Regions from separate parts of the Homo sapiens genome. Here region 2 is linked to region 1. The links are contacts of gene promoters, found by promoter capture Hi-C in human tissues and cell types (Jung and others, 2019). All regions are on one chromosome and are shown on one strand. The core of a region is centred on a gene start or on the middle of the fragment in contact, and the rest is flanking DNA. Distances in the headings are between cores, read along the strand shown. Region 1 holds the start of WNT10A (Wnt family member 10A). Region 2 overlaps NHEJ1 (non-homologous end joining factor 1).

The links. The method cuts DNA at HindIII sites, captures the fragments that hold promoters and counts their contacts. A contact is called where the count stands out against the background at its distance.
Region 2: a fragment that was not itself captured here is called in contact with the fragment with the promoter of WNT10A in region 1 in 1 of the 25 tissues and cell types used here (H1 embryonic stem cells).

The regions. Positions count from the first base shown.
Region 1 is chr2:218,878,479-218,882,181 of GRCh38, forward strand. WNT10A (Wnt family member 10A) reads left to right here and starts at 2,374. Exons shown (of 4, transcript NM_025216.3): 1 at 2,374-2,630; 2 at 3,683-3,703. The coding sequence starts at 2,518. RefSeq lists silencers at 1,800-1,859, 2,080-2,289, 2,310-2,449. The HindIII fragment of the contact is 13,021 bases long and covers 1-3,703 here.
Region 2 is chr2:219,109,950-219,113,920 of GRCh38, forward strand. All of the region lies in intron 5 of NHEJ1 (non-homologous end joining factor 1), which reads right to left. Among named protein-coding and RNA genes, the nearest start is that of NHEJ1, 49 kb to the right of the region's middle. The HindIII fragment of the contact is 8,685 bases long and covers 1-3,971 here.

The DNA.
Region 1 (3,703 bases), core at 1,124-3,623:
GACCCCCTCATCAGAGAGATGCCAAAGGAAACTAAATCAGCTCCTCAACCAGGTCAGCAGCGTTTCCCAAAAGGAGTCCCCACCAGAATCACTGGGGATGCTAGCTAGAAAGACAGACACCCAGGCCTTTCCCTGGAAAGGCTGATTCAACTTCATGGGGCCTGGAATCCGCATTCCCACAATGGCCCACCCCAGGGGACACTTGTGCTGCATCAAGCGTGGGAAATGCTAGTGTGAGCGCGTGATGGGGAATAAGGACATCTGTAAGCTGATTATGAGTCCCTTCCCTGTGTCACGTTCCTAATTCTTTCTGGGCCTCAGTTTCCCCAACAGCCAATAAGAATATGACTCTCCAGCTTGCTGGTGTCCTCTCTCATCCTGGGCTGGTGCCTGTCTCCTGTCTTGAGTCTGGTCCCACCCTTACCCTTACCGCTTACCCTTCCCAAATGCTAGTCCCAAGCTGTCCCCGTTTCTGCAGCATGGTAGGGAGAGTGGGGAGGGCAGGGGGCAGTTGGGGTCAAATAAGGCTCTAGCTGACGCAGTCTGCTTGCTGCCCCTGGCTGTTTTCCTGCAGTCCAGCCAGACTGCTCCCCCCCCACTGCCCCACCCCCACCCCCAGCAGCCTCAAGCCCTTAATTCCTGACAGCTGCGGTGGCTGCCGGCAGAGATGAGGGGGAAAGGAGGGGGGAGTATGCCGTCAGCCTGCTGTTGCTCAGGCCGCCCCCACCACCTGACAGTCTGGGGACAAGGAGGGCCCCACCCCCTCCTTCAGTTCCCCAGGGATGGGCAATTCCAGGAATGGGCCTTTTTTGTCTCTGAGCCCAGAGGCTCCCATAGTTTTGTTCCTAAGCCAGCAGGGGCTCTCTTCAGAGAGAGGGGCATGTTTGTGTAAAGGCTTGTGCCCATTTTACAGAGGAGGATGCCGAGGGCACAGGGCAGGAGCACGATCCACTATCAGGGCCCAGGCTAGCACCAGAAACAGACGGCAGAGCTGCCTTTCCCCTGCCCTCTGGCTCTCAGGCCCTTGCTTGGGCCCAGCACACTTGCACTATATCGAGGAGGGGCCCAGTGTTCAGTTGGGGTGGAGGGACAGGAAGATCTCAGCGAGAAGTAGACCTGAGCCAGGAGGCTGGTATTAGGGACCTCCTAGAGGACCATGTGCAGGTGGGGCCAGGGAGGGCCAGGACAAGACTGAGAGTATCTGCGGGCACAGGCAGGCAACACTCAGTGTTGGGGAGGCAGCTGCTGCGCTGGGAGTCAGGAGAGCTGCGTTCGGTTCTCGCTCTTCCGCTAATTTGCTGTGTGACCTCTTTGAGCCTCGATATTTTCTTGTGAAATAAAGGGGAGCTAAATAAACTATCTCAACGGCCACTTCTAGGGTTAAAAGTCTCTCTAACGCCTCCTCCCAGGACGTGCCACCCCGGGCGCTCCTACGCAAGCATTTTCTGGGGGCCTGACACTGCTGCCTCCCCGGGCTCACTGAGGAGACAAGGTGGTCCCCATGAGCCGCATTCCGCAAAGGGGCAGAGGAGGTCTCCGTGAGCAGGAGCAGGAGGCACCTGTTTAAGGTCACACAGCAAAGGGGAGAAGAAACCAGAGGCTGCCAAACTCCTCTGCAGGAGCCCACACCTGCCTCACACCAGGCAGGCCTGGGGGAAGTCCCTCCTCTGGCGGAGGAGGCGAAACACAGAGGCCAGCCCCTCCCCTCCAGCCCCTGCAGGTGTGTGTGTTGGGGTGGGATGGGGGCGCTCCCCAGCAGCTGCGTCTCTGCCAGGCACACACACCTCGCGGTAACACATATCCCCCACACAACCCAGCGCGCTCCACACACAGGCATCTTCCTGTGCACGCGCGCACAGACCCCAACACCTTTCCCTCTGTTGCCCTCAGCAGGGACGCTCCCACCCCCAGTCCCCAGCGGACGCAGTGGCCTCGGGACTCGTACACGCCTCCACGCCCCGCCGCGTGACGTCACGTGGGGTAGAGCCCTGAGACACTAAATGGCGGGGGGGTGGGGGGAGGAAAGGGAAGGCGGCAGAGCTCCCCGAGCCGGGACAGTCACTTACTCTACAGGCAGTGGGGCCCGACACAGACAGCGCCGCCCCCGCCAGCCAGCCTCGCACGCCCTCGGAAGCGCAGGCTCCCGGCGCTGCGCTGGAGGGTTCCCCGGCACCCCAGCCTCCCGTCCCCAGCCCGCTGCACCTCCGGGCCCCCCTTACCCTTGAGAGGCACCGGGAGTTGTCGCGGGGGGGCCTCGGGAAATTCCCCGGACCCCTGTGCCAGGAGGTGCCCGGTTCGCCCGCTCTTCACCCCCCGCCCCCCCCGAGGGCGGTGCCCGGGGGTGCTGCCCCATGGAGCGGGGAGGCGGGCGCCGTCTGCTCCGGGAGCCCTGACCCGAGTCGGAGCTGTGTGTCGCAGCCGCCCCGACCCCCCGCCGATCATGCGCCGGCGCCCCTGGCTCTCCAGTCCCACTGGGCTGTGAGCCCCCCACTCCCAGCCCGTCAGGGCCTGCGCGCCATGGGCAGCGCCCACCCTCGCCCCTGGCTGCGGCTCCGACCCCAGCCCCAGCCGCGGCCAGCGCTCTGGGTGCTCCTGTTCTTCCTACTGCTGCTGGCTGCTGCCATGCCCAGGTGAGCCCTCACCTCATGCTCCGCCCTCCTAGAGAGTTGGGACCCCGGCCTGCAGGGGCCTCTGATGCTCTTGCTGGGGTAGAGGACCCTGGAAGAAGGGAGGGACAGGGTCATAGGAAAGTGCTGGTGCCCAACCAAAGGCAGTGAGCTCCCTCATAGGAGGGGGTTGGACTGGTGACAGGATATGGGCAGTCCAGGGAGACAAGGCAGTGCCCAGGAGCATGATGGCAACTAGGAGGGGAGGTGTGTGTGGGGGGGGAGCAAGTGCCAGTCTGGAGTTCCTGCCCTGTTGGGGGAATGCACCCCCACCTCAGGAGTAAGCACAAGCTGCCTCACTCCTTCCTGCAGCTCAGCCCCAGGTAGGGGCAGGGGTTGGGAGGCTGGAAGGGGGTAGCCCAGGTGGGGTCAGTGAGAGACTGCAGCTGCAAGAGCTGTGTGTGTGTGTGTGTGTGTGTGTGTGTTTTCAATCGAGCCCAGGATCCCAGCAAACTGTGTTGGTAAACAGTAGTTTGTATGTGTGCCCATGTGTGCATGTGAGAGCTCATGGGTCAATGTATGTTAAGATGAACACATGTGTAAATGGGAGTGTCTTTGTGTGTGTGTCTGTAACTATGTCTGATGAAGTGTGCATGTGCGTAAGTGTGCTGGGGTTGGGTTTGTGTGTCCACCACAATGTGTGCAGAAGTGTGTCTATGTGAATGTGACTGAAACATATCTGTGGGAGTGGGCTTGTGGGGAACCCTGTGTGTATGGGCATCTATTCCTGGGGATGTGCATAGGAAATACTGTGGCCACAAGCATGGTGGATGTGTGTGCATTTGCACGCTTACCTGTGTGGGTGTGCAGCTAGCTGAGTGAGTTGCACTGGGCAGGATGATTGTGAGGAGGTCAAGGAGAGAGGAATGTGTAGGAGTGTACTGATGGGCCCAACCTTCAGAAGCAGAGGTTGGAAGAGGGAGTGATTATGGCCGTTGGGACAGAGTGTGTGTTGTTAGATGGGGCTCTCCTGGTCCCCCCAAAACACGTACCCACTCCACCCCATATGTCTGCAGGTCAGCACCCAATGACATTCT
Region 2 (3,971 bases), core at 1,119-3,618, 230 kb after region 1:
GTAAGGGTATGAATAGTTTGAAAAGGCTTCCAAATAATTCTAACCATCTCCCCGATTGGGTATGTACCCCCTATGAAGAATCATGAGCTTAAAGAGCCTACTTTTCCTTCCCTCCCTTCCTTCCTTCCATGTATTCAACAAATACATTTTGAGAGCTTACATGTGCCAAGCATTGTTCTATTGACACTGGAGAGACAGCAATGAACACACAGACAAAAATCCCTGCCCTCATTGAGAATCCATGTCTTCACATGGGGTAAAATCAACGTAATTAAAAAGCAGAATCTAAGGGGTGCCCACTGCACCCTGTAATCCCAGCACTTTGGGATGCCAAGGCAAGAGGACTGCTTGAGCCCAGGAGTTCAAAACCAGCCTGTGTAACATGGAAAAATCCCGTCTCTACAAAAAATATATATATATAAATTAGCCAGGTGTGGTAGGGTGCACCTGTAGTCCCAACTACTCGGGAGGCTAAGGTGAGAGGATCGCTTGAACCCCAGGAGGTTGAGGCTGCAGTGAGCTGTGTTTGCACCATTGCACTCCAGTCTGGGCAACAGAGTGAGATGCTGCCAAAAAAAAAAAAAAGTAGAAATGTGTGGTATATTGGGTTATGGTAAGTGCTATGGAGAAAAGTACAGCAGAGACAGAGACAGAAAGTGCTGGTGGGGTGGGGGTGGAGGTGGGGCTGAAATTTTAGATGGGGTGGCCGGGAAGTCCTCAATTAGAAGGTATCACTTGAAAAAAGACCTGAAGGAAGTGAAGGAATGAATCATGCAGATATCTGGGAAGGACCATTCTTAGCAGAGGGAACGGCAAGTGAGAAGGTCCTGAGGTGGGGCACCGGTCTCAGATGTTCAAGAAACAGGAAGGAGGCGGCCACCGTGGATGGAGTCCATATGCTACTGTTCATCACAGCGCTCCTCCTCCATTTCAGATCCTTTGGCTCTGAGGAGTCTGGGCTGACTGCATGTTGGACTGAACTGTCCAAGCCAGGAACATGCTCGCAAGCAGAAAGAACTTAAATAGCTTGGTGAAAAGGGACATGGGTAGATAAGATGAGCTTAGTTTTAAAGTATTTCTCTTTACTGAAACAGCTCAAAGTTCCTTTAAATAAAACATCACCCATCCTCACAAAATCCTTGTAAGGAACAAAGGTCATATTCCTTAACTAAGGACCAGAGGGGGGAAAATCATTTTAAAGATGATTTTAGAACTGGAATAGAATTTACTCGTGATACCCAGACCAATGCTCTATTATTCATAAAAGCATAGACTACTAAAAGGTGGAAGCCAGATTTATCTCACCCATTCTCCTCATTTACTCAAAAGGCAGCTGACAAAATTAGAACCCAGGTTTCTTGGATAAGGGGTTAACACTCCTTAAAAAGCAAAGTAGGGGGATGGTACAGCTTTTAAAAGAGGGGACCAGCTCTCAAATCCTGCATTCTAGAAACTCTCCTACAAGGGAAAGATATGGTGATGACATTAGCATTACAGAATACTAATAAACAGTCTTCTCTGTCCCCTGACCCCTAGAAAAAATCTAGTTATCCCACACGCTTGGCCCACTCCCCTTATCTAGATCCCTTTAGCCCCAAATGTCTTTCATGAGACAGTGTGGCCAAGCCAGTGGGCTGCAGGTTCTGAAGACCAGAATTAAGTCTACAGTGTGAATACAGACACACACACACACACACACACACACACACACACAGAGAGATACATACAGTCAGTGGGAAAGAAGGGGAAAGGAAAGCACACACAACACAACACACCAGGGCAGCTGCAGAAAACAACTGCTTGTTAAGTTAAAATTAAACTCTGTACAAATATTGACCTTTGGAGGGGACAGAAACCGGTCCCATATTTACCAGCTTTATAAATGGGACTGACCACAGCTGCCCCACGCGCTTGGCCAGCATCATGGCAGGATGGGGCGAGGCCATGCTTTAGGGGTGGGGGGATGAATGAGAGGGGCAGGAGACATTTTAAACACTCTCTTAAATGTAGTTACTACTGGTAGGTCAAAGTTCCCAAAAGCCTTAAAAGGGGAATTTCTAGGAAAGCAAATAAGGCAGTCTCTGAAAGTGGGGGTCAGAGAAATAGGAATAGAGTGGAAAAGGAAAGCTTCGGCAAGGAAAAATTGCTAAAAAGAATGAGAAATACAACAGAGATTGTAACTAAATGGTGAAAGCACTGGGGAGCTTATCCTTTTGAACCCTGGCCCTTGGTCAAAGCAAGAGTCATAAGGTAGAAGACCAGGTGACCAATTTAAGTAACCTAATGGAACAATTTAAACTGACCTGGTTTGAGTTTTGGCTCTGTTGCTTACTTGCTATGTTACCTTGGGAAGCTCAAGGAACCCCAGTTTCCTCATCTATAAAATAGGGATAATAATACAAAAATATTGTCCTAATTCACAAAGACTAGGACCAACCATAAATATCACGCATATATAAATCATCATTATAATTAATTCCATTCCAGCTAACTGTGCCTTTTACACTCCAAACTGGCCAAGAAACTGCAGTCTCTCCAGGAACAAAGTCAAGGGCTAGAAAGGAGAGCTTGACCTTGCCTTGAACTTGTAAAAGTCTCCTAGGGGCACACACCTAGACCCTTCTCTTGTTGCAGGATAACAGGGAGGCCAACCTGCTGAAACAGGCCCCAAAAGTCATACTCAGGTTGCAAAAGGTCCAGATATGAAGGAGGAGAAAGGACTCATCAATACTACTTCCCTGAAAGCTGATCTCTAGCAACCTGAAGTTTTTCAGGAACAAACATCACAGATGCTGGGCAACTTAGTTCTGTTCCAAACCCCTGAAACTTCGCCCTCTTTTACGCCCTCCTTTACACTCATGACTTTCACAATGAATAAGAGTAAGCAGAAAAAGACCAGATCCATCTCCATATGATAGGACATGAAACATGCACACACACATACACGCACTGTGCCACCAAGAATCACAATTCTGAAAGTATTTCCAGTAAAAACACATGAAAAGATTTTGCTGAAATTAGTTGCCCAGATTTATAGAAATCTCTTATGCCTTTATGTGGTATATTGTTTATGCTATACATCTTAAAATCATGGGGTAGGCAGGCAACTATCACGGCATATGAAAAAGGCAACGACTAAGTCAAAGTACTTTACCTCCTCAGTGCTAACCAAACATGTGTCACCAGCATCTCTCGACTCTGCTTCACTTGTTCAATGTTTTACCTTAATATATTACAGTTTATATTGTTAAACGTGTGTCATAAAATATAAACAATGTACAGCAGAACCAGGTCAGCAATTCAGGAAGAATTTCCAACGCTGCAGTCTCTGTGGTCACAGGGCAAGATGATTTGCATTTGGTGCACCAAATACGTGCTGAAGCACAAACTCAAAACAAATTGAGGAGGGAGAGATGGACAGGAATAGAAAAGGGGAGGAAAATGGAGAAACTATCCTCCAGGTAGGGACCAGCTTCCTTGAATTCTGATTCAATATATATATGTATTTTTTGTAATCTGACATTTTTACCATCAAGAACTTATCTTAAAATGTAATCATTATTTATCTCTATAACCTGCTTTCTCTGGCTTTGTCCTTCTTCAGAGGCTCCAGATAAGTGATAAGCCTCCAAGTTTAGCCACTCAGAGCCTCCAAGGCTTTTGTCCTGACATAGAAAAGAGCCCTTACCTCAGTCCACTCTCATTTTTCTCCCCCTCCATAAGTCTTCGTGTCACCTTCTATAAACTATAGAGAAGTGGAGTTAGCTGGCCTTACCTGTATGAGCCTAAGATCCTTGGCAAACCTATTAAGCTACAGCCAGAACTGCTATCATTTCCAAGGTATTCCATACTTGGAATACCTTTCTAGAAAAGGGAGATTTATCATAATGATGACCATCACCCATTTAATACTCCAAAAAAAGTTCGTCCCTCTCATTCTCAGCAACAACGCTCACAGGAGAAGCCTGAAA